Linked DNA regions of Homo sapiens: region 1 is linked to region 2. Evidence: promoter capture Hi-C in human tissues and cell types (Jung and others, 2019). All regions are on one chromosome and are shown on one strand. Each heading gives the region's core, a stretch centred on a gene start or on the middle of the fragment in contact. The rest is flanking DNA. Distances are from core to core; before and after follow the strand shown.

Region 1 (6,819 bases), core at 3,135-5,634, 180 kb before region 2:
TCTTAGTTGTTATTATTGTTTTGTGTTGTTTTAGACGGAGTCTCACTCTGTTGCCCAGGCCGGAGTGCAGCGATGCGATCTCAGCGCACTGCAACCTCCGCCTCCTGGTTCAAGCGATCCACAGGGTCCCTAGTGCCTCAGCCTCCCTAGTAGCTGGTGTATGCCACCAAGCCCAGCTAATTTTTGTATTTTTAGTAGAAACAGGGTTTCACCATGTTGGCTAGGCTAGTCTCGAACTCCTGACCTTAAGTGATGCACCCGCCTCAGCTTTCCAAAGTGCGGGGATTACAGGTGTGAGCCACCGCACCCAGCCAGAGCCTCACCACTTTCTTCACACTTCCTGCCATCCTTCAATTCTTGGTGGTCCCAGAGAAGATCGAAGGTGAAAGCAGGTCAGATGTGCTACAGCTGCTCTGACTGCTCGGAAAGTCAGGTTTTTAAATTATCAAAAGTGGCCGGGCACGGTGGCTCACACTTGTAATCCCAGCACTTTGGGAGGTGGAGGCAGGTGGATCTCAAGGTCAGGAGTTTGAGACCAGCCTGACCAACATGGGGCAACCCCCGTCTCTACTAAAAATACAAAAATTAGCTGGGTGTGGTGGCATGCACCTGTAATCCCAGCTACTCAGGAGGCTGAGGCAGGAGAATCGCTTGAACCTGGGAGGCAGAAGTTGCAGTGAGCTGAGATTGCAGCACTGCACTCTACCCTCGGTGACACAGCAAAACTCTGTCTCAAAAAAAAAAAAAAAAAGTATCAAAAGCTAGACTGATCTGGTGAACATCACCTTAATCAAAGAATCAAAGCTTAATGGCCAGGCGTGGTGGCTCACACCTGTAATCCCAGCACTTTGGGAGGCTGAGGTGGGCAGGTCACCTGAGATCAGGAGTTTGAGACCAGCCTGGCCAACATGGCGAAACCCCATCTCTACTAAAAATACAAAAAAATTAGCCAGGCATAGTGGTGCGCACCTGTAATCCCACCTACTTGGGAGGCTGAGGCAGAAGAATTGCTTGAACCTAGGAGGCAGGGAGGTTGCAGTGAGATGAGATCACACCACTGCACTCCAGCCTGGGCAACAGAGTGAGACTCAGTCTCAAAAAAAAAAAAAAAAAAAAAGCTTAATAGGACAAACTGGCCTTGTGTGCCTTCTGATGTGATGCACTGGGAAGGACACACACACGGGGAGTACATTTCTGTAGTAGTCCTCCCCAAAATGCCCAAAAAATGTTCACTCACCACCTAGTCTTGAGGAAATAGAGATCAAAGTGAGAGAGATTCTGCAAAATGATTGGTCTGGACACTTTACAGATGTCGTTGTTATAAAACATTAAGAAAAAGCTAAGAACTACCCCAGATTAAAGGAGACATAAAAAATAAATACAGGCCAGACACAGTGGCTCATGCCTTTAATCCCAGCACTTTGGGAGGCTGAGGTCGGTGGATTGCTTGAACTCAGGAATTCAAGACCAGCCTGGGCAATATAGCAAAACCCCATCTCTACTAAAAAATACAAAAAAAAAAAATTGCTGAACATGGTGGTGGACACCTGTAGTCCCAGCTATTCTGGAGGCAGTGGTCGAAGAATCGCTTGAACCCGGGTAGGTGGAGGTTGCACTGAGCTGTGATTGCCAGCAACTTCCGACTGGGAGACAGAGTGAAACTCTGTCTCCAAAAATAAAATAAAATATAAATAAATAAATAAATTCAATGAGTGATCCTGGATTAGATGCAAGATTGTGTAGGGGAGATCAGCTCTAAAGGACATTTTACCCTTGGGGAAATTTGAATATGATCCATATATTAGATGACAACGATATATCAATGTTAAATTTATCAAGTGTGATAATTGTGGTTATGTGTGGGAATTACCTTGTTCATAGCAAATACATTCTGAAGTATGTAGAGGTGAAGTGTCATGATGACAGAAAGAAAGCAAATGTGGCAAAATTGCTAAGAATTAGTGAATCCACGTGAGGGTTTGAAACTTGTCAAAATAAAAAGTTGGGGTAGGCCCGGTGCAGTGGCTCACGCCTATAATCCCAGCACTTTGGGAGTGGTCAAGGCAGGAGGATCACTTGAACCCAGGAGTTCAAGACTAACCTGGGCAACATAGTGAGACCCCCTCCAAAAACAAAAATTGGCTGGATGTGGTGGCACACACCAGTAGTTCCAGCTACTTGGAAGGCTGAGGCTGGAGTATCACTTGAGCTCAGGAGGTTGAGGCTGCAGTGAGCCAAGATTGTTCCACTGCACTCTAGCCTGAGCAACAGAGACTCTGTTAAAAAAAAAAAAATTGGGGTAGGGGGCACTTGGTAAGAGCTTGAGAAGCCAGTCTGGAGGAAACTGACCATATTGAATGTTGTATAATAAAGAATTTTGAAGGGGTGGCCTGCCCCTCCACACCTGCGGGTATTTCTCGTCAGGTGGGACGAGGGACTAAAAAAAGAAATAAGACACAGAGACAAAGTATAGAGAAAGAACACTGGGCCCAGGAGACCAGCGCTCAGCGTACGGAGGACCTGCACTGGCCCCAGTCTCTGAGTTCCCTCAGCATTTACTGATTATTATTTTCACTGTCTCAGCAAGGGGAATGCAGCAGGAGAACAGGGTGATAGCGGGGAGAAGGTCAGCAAGAAAACATGTGAGCAAAGGAATCTGTGTCACAAATAAGTTCAAGGGAAGGTACTATGCCTGGATGTGCACATAGGCCAGATATATGCTTCTCTCCACCCAAACATCTCAGTGTAGTAAAGAATAACACAGCAGTATTGCCACCAGCATATCTCGCCTCCAGCCACAGGGCGGTTTTCTCCTATCTCAGAATAGAACGAATGTACAATCGGGTATTATACTGAGACATTCCGTTCTCAGGGGCATGCAGGAGACAGAGGCCTTCCTCTTATCTCAACCGCAAGAGGCCTTCCTCTTTTACTAATCCTCCTCAGCACAGACCCTTCACGGGTGTCGGGCTGGGGGATGGTCAGGTCTTTCCCGTCCCACGAGGCCATACCTCAGGCTGTCTCAGTGGGGAGAAACCTTGGACAATACCTGGCTTTCCTGGGCAGAGGTCCCTGTGGCTTTCTGCAGTGCATTGTGCCCCTGGTTAATCGAGAATGGAGAATGGCGATGACTTTTACCAAGCATACTGCCTGTAAACATTTTGTTAACAAGGCACATCCTGCACAGCCCTAGATCCCTTAAACCTTGATTCCATACAACACATATTTCCGTGAGCACAAGGTTGGGGCTAAAGTTACATATTAACAGCATCTCAAGGCAAAACAATTGTTCAGGGTACAGATCAAAATGGAGTTTCTTATGTCTTCCTTTTCTATGTAGACACAGTAACAGTCGGATCTCTCTTTTCCCTACATATCCCCCTTTTTGACAAAACTGCCATCGTCGTTATGGCCCGTTCTTGCTGGTCGCTGTCTCTTCGGAGCTGGTGGATACACCTGTGGACTAACAACAGACAGAACAGGCATACAAGGATTAATATGAAATTTACAATAGTGGAACTTCTGATGGTTTTTAACCAAGTGACAGTGTTAAGATTTGTGAGGCCATCAGTAGCTTTCACGATTGCCTCAGTTCCCAAATTTAAATGGGCTTTCGATGCCTCAAAATTTTGTTATTTTAATTTTGAAATATCTAAAGTAAGATTATCTTCTCTTCCCTGTAGATGGCATCTAACCATGTCCCAGTGATGCTCAGACTCATTATAGGCTTGGGGTGTAATACAAAAATCTGACATATTCCAGTCACACTGTAACTGAAAAAGATATTCCAAGCTCATGAGCCTATTTCCCAGCCAAATGACAGTTTGTCTAAGATCATTAATTTCGTTTGCCAATTTTTGATTTATTTGGGTCTGAGAATTCCACAATTTTGAGGAATTCTTTCGCCAATCATTTACATATTCTGCAGTTTGAACAGAGGAGTGTAAAGCAATTCCAGCAGCTGCAGCAGTAGCTGTGACTGCAATAAGGCCCATAATCACTGCAATCAAAGTAAAAATCTTTTGGATCTAGTTAGAATTCCTTTTAATACTTCCGTTAAAATATGGAAGATGGCGAAGCCTCCCACTGTCGGTCCATGGACACAGGGATCCGCACACCTTCTCTTGCCCTCACTAGCAGAATATGGCGCTGCCAATTAAAAGTCAAATCAATGCAAGTAAACAATCTACAGTTTTCACAGGTTATAGTTTGGGAATCTGGTTTAATAACTATGTTTTCTATAACTAGCATATAAGGGGGTTTTACACAACTTTGTAAAGGAATTGTCAGATTGGAATTTAGGTTGATAGTATAATATGGCTTACGATTTCTTGTTTCTGTAGCTTGATTTCCAGACCAAATTCTAATGTAGTGCGAGGCCACAGTAAGCTTCCATAATTTTGGATGTTTAGGACCAGTAACAGGACTAACTAACTTTGGTCGAGGTGATGAAATTCCCTTTTCACCCCATTTCCAGGGATAGGGTGATTCTAGCCTTCTATAAACCTGGTCCAGCCTTTCAATTAAATCACTATCATAGGCCGGATTAATGGGCCAGATGGATGGGGCCTGTAAACATGAGTGAGTCTGGCCCATACAATTATATATAATATAATTGTATATAATATAATATAATATATAACTATTATATAATATTATAGTAGTTCCAAATTCATTGTTTTGTAATACCACCGCAGTATTAGCCACACATTCTTCCCAAACTAAGGCTTCTGGGCTTTTTGATTCTTTGGGAATTTCCTTGGGGCAAGGCTTCCCCTTAGGCCCAGATTTTAATGATCTTTGATAAGAAGCGTCCTCTAAATTATTTATCTGTGGCCCGAGTGACATTCCACTTACCATGTGATAAGTAAATTTACTGGTGGCACTGACGGTAGGTACTTCTACCAACCAGTTTTGGGTTGTAGGCATTAAACATCCTGGTGCCTTCCCTAGGCAAATAGGAGGATAATGATACCCAGTGGAAACATTTATCATCATTCCTTCTTCTTTAGGTTGGGCAGGGCAACAATCGTCTGTGGGGCCTGGTACCCATGCCCTATTATTAACATATACTTCAACAGGATTATCCATCCATGTGACTGCCCAAATTAAGGGTGGGAAAGGCACATAGGCACAGTAAGTATAATTAGTTGCAGCTGCTCCTGCAGACATGGGGAGACTTACTACCGTTGATATAATAATCAAAGCTGTAAGCAGTATATTCTCTGGAGTTCACATTACCCTTGTGTTCTTTAGGCTTTTTTTAGCTAACTGTGTCAGCTTCTTTAATTGGGCCCAAGTCGGTGGCTCCGCTTCCTTGGTGGATGGCAACTTCATCTGTTCTTCTGATATCACCATTTTATTTACCTGGCGAGTCGATGATGCTCAATTGAGGGTTTTTTGTCTCCGCAGAGGCGCTTTTCTTCGCATCTCCAAGGGGTTCATTGTAGAACTTTAAATTTCTAGTGGGTATCCAACCAGGAAGCTGATTTTCTCCTTGTGAAACACAAGCAAAGCCTCTCTCCCATGTTATCACCTTCCCTATTTCCCATGTCTTATTTTTCTTGTCTTTCCACCAAATCAGTTTTCCTTCATGTGGGCTATTCTTTTTACCAGTAAAATGTTGTTCTGCAGAAGTAGTGGTTTGATTTCTATAAATGTTTAAAAAATTTAAAGTATAGAGTGCTAGATTAAGTTGCATCTGGGGAGTGTTATACTCCTTACTGTCTTTTTTCCTTTTTTTGTTTAACCAATTGAGCTTTGAGTGTTCTATCAGTTTTTTCAATTATGGCCTGTCCTTGGGAATTATAAGGGATTCCTGTTGTATGTGTAATTTTCCACTGATTTAAGAATTTTTGAAATGTTTTACTACAGTATCCTGGCCCATTATCCGTTTTAATTTTTTCTGGAACTCCCATGACAGCAAAACAAGATAATAAATGTCTTTTAACATGGGAAGTATTTTCTCCTGTCTGGCAGTTTGCCCTTACAAAATGTGAATAAGCATCAACTGTCACATGGAGAAATGACAATTTTCCAACTGAAGGTACATGTGTGACATCCATTTGCCATAACGCATTAGGACACAGACCTCTGGGATTAACTCCTGCCTCCTGAGTGGGCAGGTGTGGAATCTGACACTGGGTGTAATGTTGTACAATATTTTTTGCCTGTTTCCATGTGATGTCAAATTTATTTTTTAGTCCTGTTGCATTTACATGAGTCAAGGCATGAAGTTCTTGTGCTTCCAGGAATGCAGATGATACTAGCAAGTCAACTTGTTCATTTGCTTTAGTTAAAGGCTCTGGTAAATTAGTATGTGCTCGAATATGAGTAACATAAAATGGGAAATTTCTTTTTCTTACAGTTTGTTGTAACATATTAAACAGCTGGTTTAACTGATCATCTATACTATATTTGATTAGGGCTGTCTCAACATCCTTTGTAGCCTGTACTACATATGCAGAATCTGATACAATGTTAATAGGCTGATTAAAATCTTGTAACACTGTAATGACAGCAACCAACTCTGCTCTTTGAGCCCAGTGATATTGAGTTTCAATGAGTCGTTCTTTTGGCCTGGTGTAAGCCGCTTTTCCATTGCTGGAACCATCAGTAAACACTGTCAGAGCATTTTCTAAAGGTTTATGTCTAGTAATTTTAGGTAAAATCCAAGTAGTCAATTTTAAAAACTGGAAGATTTTTGTTTTTGGGTAATGATTGTCAATAATTCCCACAAAATCAGCAAGACCAATCTGCCATGCACCAGAATTGATAAAGGCTTGTCTAACCTGTTCCTTGTTTAAAGGAACAATGATT
Region 2 (6,270 bases), core at 3,713-6,212:
ACAGGAGTTTGGGTCTGTGGATGGTGAGTGGTGAGGGCCTGGGGAAGGGGCTGTGGGGAAGAAAAGAAATTCAGACCAAAGGTCGGGGGTTAGGCCACAGCGGTTCCCAGGGGGAGCCAGACCCCTTCAGTCCAGCCTGTCAGCCTCTGGGTCCTGGCTCTCCGACACTGTCTAGCTCCCATCTCTAACCTCCCCACCCCATGTATCACCCCTAGATGACCACAAGCCCATCTGGATGCATGCAGAGGAGCGGGAGGAAATGAGCAAAGTGAGTGGGGGGAAGGGGGGCCAGCCTGGGGAGCTCAAGGCTACCGGGGTCTCTGTCTTACTCCTTGCATTAGCCCAACTCTCACTTCCCATCCCAGCACCAGCCCCAGATGCATGGTGTCCTCCCCAGCCCAGCCTGCACCCTAGCCCCATGCCACCTTGCATCTCAGCATCTCTGTATTCTTATATTTGGCTCTCCCTGCCCTTCTTTCTGGCCTCTCTCTGTCCTGCAGAGCCGGCACCATGAGGGTGGGACACCCTATGCTGAGTATGGAGGCTGGTACAAGGCCTGCAAAGTGAGCAGGTGAGCTGACAGTGAAAAGCCAGCTTGGCCTCCGATGCCCTCCATCCAGTCCCTGCTCCCAGCCTCCCAGACCTTTTCCCTTCCTCCCGTAGACTTTCCCTCAGCTTTAGCTCTGTTCCCTCTCCTATTTTCTTATTTTTTTTCCTCTTGTCTTGCTTGGAAGACAAATGTTTTGTTTTCTGAACTCATTCTCTCTTCCTTCTCTGGTCTCTTTCTCACCACAGCCCCACAGTGAACACTACTCTGAGAAACCTGGGAGCTCTGTATAGGCGCCAGGGAAAGCTGGAGGCTGCTGAGACCCTGGAGGAATGTGCCCTGCGGTCCCGGAGACAGGTCAGAAGCCCAGAGGGGAAGGAGGTCCTAGAGGGAAGGGCCCTGGGGATGAGAGAGTGCCGAGGTTTCTTGGGAGTCTCCTAAGAATAAGCGGAAAGGCTGATGAAGCCAGGAGGGAGAGGAAAGTGAGGCAGTGTTGTGATTGTGGTTGTTTTTAAGCATGTTCTTACCCCCCACCTGCATTTTGTGGTCAGGACTCTAGTTTCAAGATTCACTAAATGGGGATATGAAGGAGAAACCCTGCCCTTTCATAAGGAGGGGACCTGGGTGGTATGGGTGAGAGGAGTGAGGTTGGGGAGAGCCTAAATCAAGAATTTCTTAGATTGTGGGTCTCAATAGTAGGTTGTGAAATCAATTCAGTATGGGCCATGGGGATAAAAATATATACAGATCTATATATAGCAATGCATTGCAAATAGAAAAGGTAAGTATTATTCCAGTAGGTATAAACTGAGACATCACAAGGAAAAATGTTTTCCTTCCAGTGGCTGATGGTGAAAAAAATTTGAAAGCCCCATCCTGAGGAGTTAAGGAGTAGGAAGTCCCAGGTCCTTCCTTTTCCTTCCAGGGCACTGACCCTATCAGCCAGACGAAGGTGGCAGAGCTGCTTGGGGAGAGTGATGGTAGAAGGACCTCCCAGGAGGGCCCTGGAGACAGTGTGAAATTCGAGGGAGGTGAAGATGCTTCTGTGGCTGTGGAGTGGTCCGGGGTAAGTCTGATCATTGCCTTTTCATCTCTCCTGCCCACTCCTGCTGGTGGTGGTGAGAGGCTCTTGGCCATGCTGTCCCAGTCTAGGTAGTGTATTCCTTCAGGGGTATCTCTGGGAGCCAGTTTTTGACAGGACTTTTATTTCCAGTCACTGGGCCTTGGGGGTGGGGGATGTGTGCAGAATAAATGCTAGGAGTAGACTCAGAAACCCATCTGTGTGGGATCCTTGTAGCTTTCATTGCTCACTCCTTTCTGCCAGGATGGCAGTGGGACCCTGCAGAGGAGTGGCTCTCTTGGCAAGATCCGGGATGTGCTCCGCAGAAGCAGTGAACTCTTGGTGAGGAAGCTCCAGGGGACTGAGCCTCGGCCCTCCAGGTATACATGGAAGTCAAGATACAGTAAAGTGGCCGGGTGCAGTGGCTCACGCCTGTAATCCCAGCACTTTGGGAGGCCGAGGCGGGTGGATCACCTGAGGTCAGGAGTTTGAGACCAGCCTGGCCAACAAGGTGAAACTCTCTCCTAAAAATACAAAAATTAGTCGGGTGTGGTGGCAGGTGCCTGTAATCTCAGCTACTTGGGAGGCTGAGGCAGGAGAATTGCTGGAACCCAGGAGGCAGAGGTTGCAGGGAGCCAAGATCATGCCATTGCACTCCAGCCCAGGCGACAACAGCGAGACTCCGTCTCAAAAAAAAAAAGAAAAAAAAAAAAGATATGGTAAAGCAGGCAAGTAAAGTAAGCCCTTGCCTCCAACTCCTCTTGGCTCCTGATCTCTGGAGAAGTATCTCGGAGAGAAACAGGGAGGAAGTCAACGGGCCAGCCATGGAGAGAGAGTTTGGGTAGAATGGGTGCCCCAGTGTGGCAGTGCTCAAGAGGCCCACAGCCTTAAGGCCACTCAGGAGGAAGAGAGGAGGCCTCAATTCTTCCGTTTTCCATTGTAGCAGCAACATGAAGCGAGCAGCCTCCTTGAACTATCTGAACCAACCTAGTGCAGCACCCCTCCAGGTGAGAGCAGTGCTTGTGAGCATATTGGTGGGTGAGGAAAAAAGGACAGCCAGTGAGCAAGCCCAGTGGAGTAAGGGAAGAGGGAAGGGAGAGGAGTCATCTGGGATGAAGATGAGCCAGGGGATTGCAGTCATTAAGGAATCAGGCAGATAGCTTGTGGTGAGTGCTGACCACCAAGGGACAGTTTCAGGCCAGACATAGTAGCAAATAAGTTAATAAGGAGGGAAATAGGAATATTCTGTAAACTGGTACTTTGGAATTATGAATAATTTAAGAATTATTTGGAGATACGAATTATTTTTTCATCCTGCAGCCGCCTTAGTAGTAGATGAGAATGGAAAAAGAAAAGTATTAAATAATCCCCATCTGAGAAAACACTAGTGATATTTTAATGGCAAATGACTTCTTGTATCAACACACAAGTATATGCCAGTATTCATGTGGTTCTTCCAGGTAGCTTCTCCACCAGATTGTGGCCTTCTGGAAAACCCTAGCAGAGGCTAAACAAAGTCCCAGGTCCAGAGATAGACTGGTCCAGAGACAGATGTGATCCTAGGTCCAGAGATACACTGTGACCATGGGATGGATGGACTCTAGGAGCCAGTCTTTGGGAGGCCGAGGTCCCTGAGCTGATGGGGTAGTGTTGTCTGTTTCAGGTCTCCCGGGGCCTCAGTGCCAGCACCATGGACCTCTCTTCAAGCAGCTGACATTCAACCCGGCCCCCAGGTCTGCTGGGTCCCCCCACCCCCACAGCCCTCACAGCATTCCCCATTGCTCCTGGCTCTTCCCCACCCCTAGGTGGGACAGTGAAGGGGAGCAGTTTAACCAGAAGATTGCTGCTGCCCTTAGGGTCTCAGCTCCCTCCTCAGGAATCCCTCTTAGGAAGGACCCTCAGGACACCCTCTCTGCACCCTGTGGTCCTCTAGAGTAGCTAGCTCTGAGGCCCCAAGGTGGGTACAAAGCAGGTATGGCCCTCAGAGATGCAGCCTGCTGCTGGCTTTTCAGTCAGAGGGTTGGGGGCTGGCCAGCCAAGCTGCCTTGCCCTGGCCGCTCTTACTCCCTCCCTCTGCTGTCTCACTTCAGGTCCATGTATTTCACTTTTCTTAAATAAAAGAATCAGGTAACCTTTCTGTGACTTGAGTCCTGATTGAAGAGGGTATGAAGCAGGGCTTGTGTTGGGGCCCTTCACAGAAGGTGAGGGGCAGTGATGGATGGAGCAGCAGGAGGAGTGTTGATTCTTGGATCTCTCCTCTCTTCCTCCCGTTGTTTGTATCATCTCCAGCAGGGCCTGTAGGAAGGCATCTGGGGGATGGGGAAGAAGGAGGCTCACAACCCAAGGAGAAGGTGCTGTGGACTGGGTTGTCAGGGACATGTGGTGGCCATGTGGCAGGACCCTGGAGTCCTGGCGCCACTTCTCCTGGCTGTGAGGCCCTCTGTGGCTGCCATTCCTCCTCCCAGCTGCTTGGGGGAAGGGAGGTCTAAACAGGCCTGGGGGGCCCTCCGGAACCAGAGGGGAGACAAGGCACTATCCATCCCCTCTCAGCATATCTTGGAGGCCTGAGCAGCAGCTGGGGCCCATCTTCTAAAGCTTGACTCCTCCTGACCCGCCTCCTACACCCCTTGCTGCTTTCACAACAAAGAAAGAATGTGGGGGTGGTGGCGCTGGGGGTGGGGGTGCCTGGAACAAGGGTTGTGCTGGGCCTCCCCACAGCTGGAGACTTGGCCATACCCTGACACAGCCCAGACTGCCTGGAGATGGACTTGGGATGAATTTGTCAGTTAGCAGACTTCAGCCTGGCTTTCAGAGCCCAGCGTGTTTCTACCTTTGGGTTCAGATTGGTCTACAGCCAAACCAGACCCCAGTCATGCACACTTCAGCCCCTCTCCGGGCTACACAGCATCTTCAGGTTACTTGGGGACATTAAGGACACCCTGCTGTTCTGGGTCTGCCGTTAAGATTTTGGGTTGCTGAAGAGTTGGCGGGGCCCGCCTCTTCCCCTGCCCCCACCTGGAGAATTCTGGGGGAACTGTTGGCCAGAGCCTCCAGGTATGCCCAGAATGGACCATTCTCCCCAGGGTCCACGGAATCGCACAAGTCACTTAGGTTCTCCCGGATCCCTGCAGAGTCGGTGGTGGGTACAGCAAATACTCAGGTCCCCTGCACTTCCCTGAGCCTTGCTCTCTCTATTCTCCATCCCTCTCCAGACCCCTCCCCCTACTGAGCTCCTCCCCGCCTCGGCGAGGAGGGGGCGTCGAGGGGGCGGGGCGCCGTGCGGGGGCCGGAGGGGAGGGGGCGTCGTGGGGCGGGGCTTGGCGGCGGCGGCGGCGGCGCGCGGGGACTCGGAGGTACTGGGCGCGCGCGGCTCCGGCTCGGGACGCCTCGGGACGCCTCGGGGTCGGGCTCCGGCTGCGGCTGCTGCTGCGGCGCCCGCGCTCCGGTGCGCTCCGCCTCCTGTGCCCGCCGCGGAGCGCAGTCTGCGCGCCCGCCGTGCGCCCTCAGCTCCTTTTCCTGAGCCCGCCGCGATGGGAGCTGCGCGGGGATCCCCGGCCAGACCCCGCCGGTTGCCTCTGCTCAGCGTCCTGCTGCTGCCGCTGCTGGGCGGTGAGTACCCGAGAGTTGGGGGCACAGAGCTTGGGAAGCGCGGGAGTCCCGTGGGCAAAAGGCTGCGCCCGGGGCGGTGGGTTTGGGCGGCTGGAACGGCCCTGGAGTAGTGGAGAGGCTCGCTGGGGGTGCAGGCTTGCGGCGGAAGGGCGCAAGGAGCCCGGGTGTCGGGAGGCTGGCGAAGCCTCCAGGGACGCGGTCAGGGTACCCCTCCCACTCGCGCCGCGGGGACGCATTTCCAGCCTCCCTGAGTTTTTCTGGTCTGAGCCGAGAGTTTGCTCGAGAACTGCCGAGAGTTGCTGGCTCTCGGGCCCAGATGGGGAGTTTCTTGTCGGGGGAGAAAAGACCATCCGCACCCACCGTGGGGAGCGCGATGGAGAAAAAGGAATTCCCCACCCCACCCGGCAGGGTCGGCCCAGGTAAGAGTTGCTGGTTTGGGGCCCGATGCCGGACAGACCTGCGGCGCGCAAAGCGCGGAGCTTTGTTACCTACGCCGACCCGACGTTCCCGGCTTCCCTCCTCCGAGTTCCTGGGCAAAGCTGAGACCCCAGATGGCCCTGCGGGTGAGGGCGGAAGAAGGGAAGAGTTAGGGGCCGCCCCCATCCATGGCCTCTAGCTACTGGTCTGGAACCCTGCGCCCACTCCGTGCCAGGGCCGAATCCGGGGATCCGAGGGTCCCAGGCTGTCGCGGTGACTAATGTGTGAAGGCCGCTGCCAAAATCGGGCATGGCCTGGCTGCAAAGGTGCGGACGGGGTTTGTTCTGCTCCTTCCTGGATTTCCATCCTGACTGTCCTCACAGAGGAAAGGAAGTATTTCTAAGGGAAGAAAGGCAAAAAGAGCTCATTCTGGCTTTTCTTGGGGGGGGGCCTTAGCATTTTAACGAGGGTGTGGCCCTCATCACCAGGGCAGACAGCACCGCCCCCCCAACTCCCGCAGCTTTTATTTCCTGGCTTGGTCACACCTAAGAGTCATCACTGAGGTGTTGAAGTGCCTTACAGGAAAGCACCAAGCCACCCGCACATCCCAAATAGCCCGGACTGGAAATAAAGCCCC

What was found. Contacts are between HindIII fragments. The study calls those that stand out against the background at their distance.
Region 1: a fragment that was not itself captured here is called in contact with the fragment with the promoter of PTK7 in region 2 in 1 of the 25 tissues and cell types used here (hippocampus).

The regions. Positions count from the first base shown.
Region 1 is chr6:42,891,293-42,898,111 of GRCh38, forward strand. No RefSeq gene overlaps it. Among named protein-coding and RNA genes, the nearest start is that of PEX39, 3.9 kb to the left of the region's middle. The HindIII fragment of the contact is 6,847 bases long and covers 962-6,819 here.
Region 2 is chr6:43,071,352-43,077,621 of GRCh38, forward strand. It overlaps PTK7 (protein tyrosine kinase 7 (inactive)), which reads left to right and starts at 4,963. Exons shown (of 20, transcript NM_002821.5): 1 at 4,963-5,216. The coding sequence starts at 5,138. It overlaps KLC4 (kinesin light chain 4), which reads left to right. Exons shown (of 16, transcript NM_201521.3): 9 at 1-23; 10 at 216-268; 11 at 501-571; 12 at 796-904; 13 at 1,473-1,613; 14 at 1,872-1,987; 15 at 2,551-2,614; 16 at 3,271-3,742. The coding sequence ends at 3,321. It overlaps KLC4-AS1 (KLC4 antisense RNA 1), which reads right to left and starts at 4,879. Exons shown (of 2, transcript XR_002956347.1): 1 at 4,344-4,879; 2 at 2,982-3,916. RefSeq lists enhancers at 1-331, 4,098-4,621 and a silencer at 4,951-5,050. The HindIII fragment of the contact is 20,814 bases long and covers 1-6,270 here.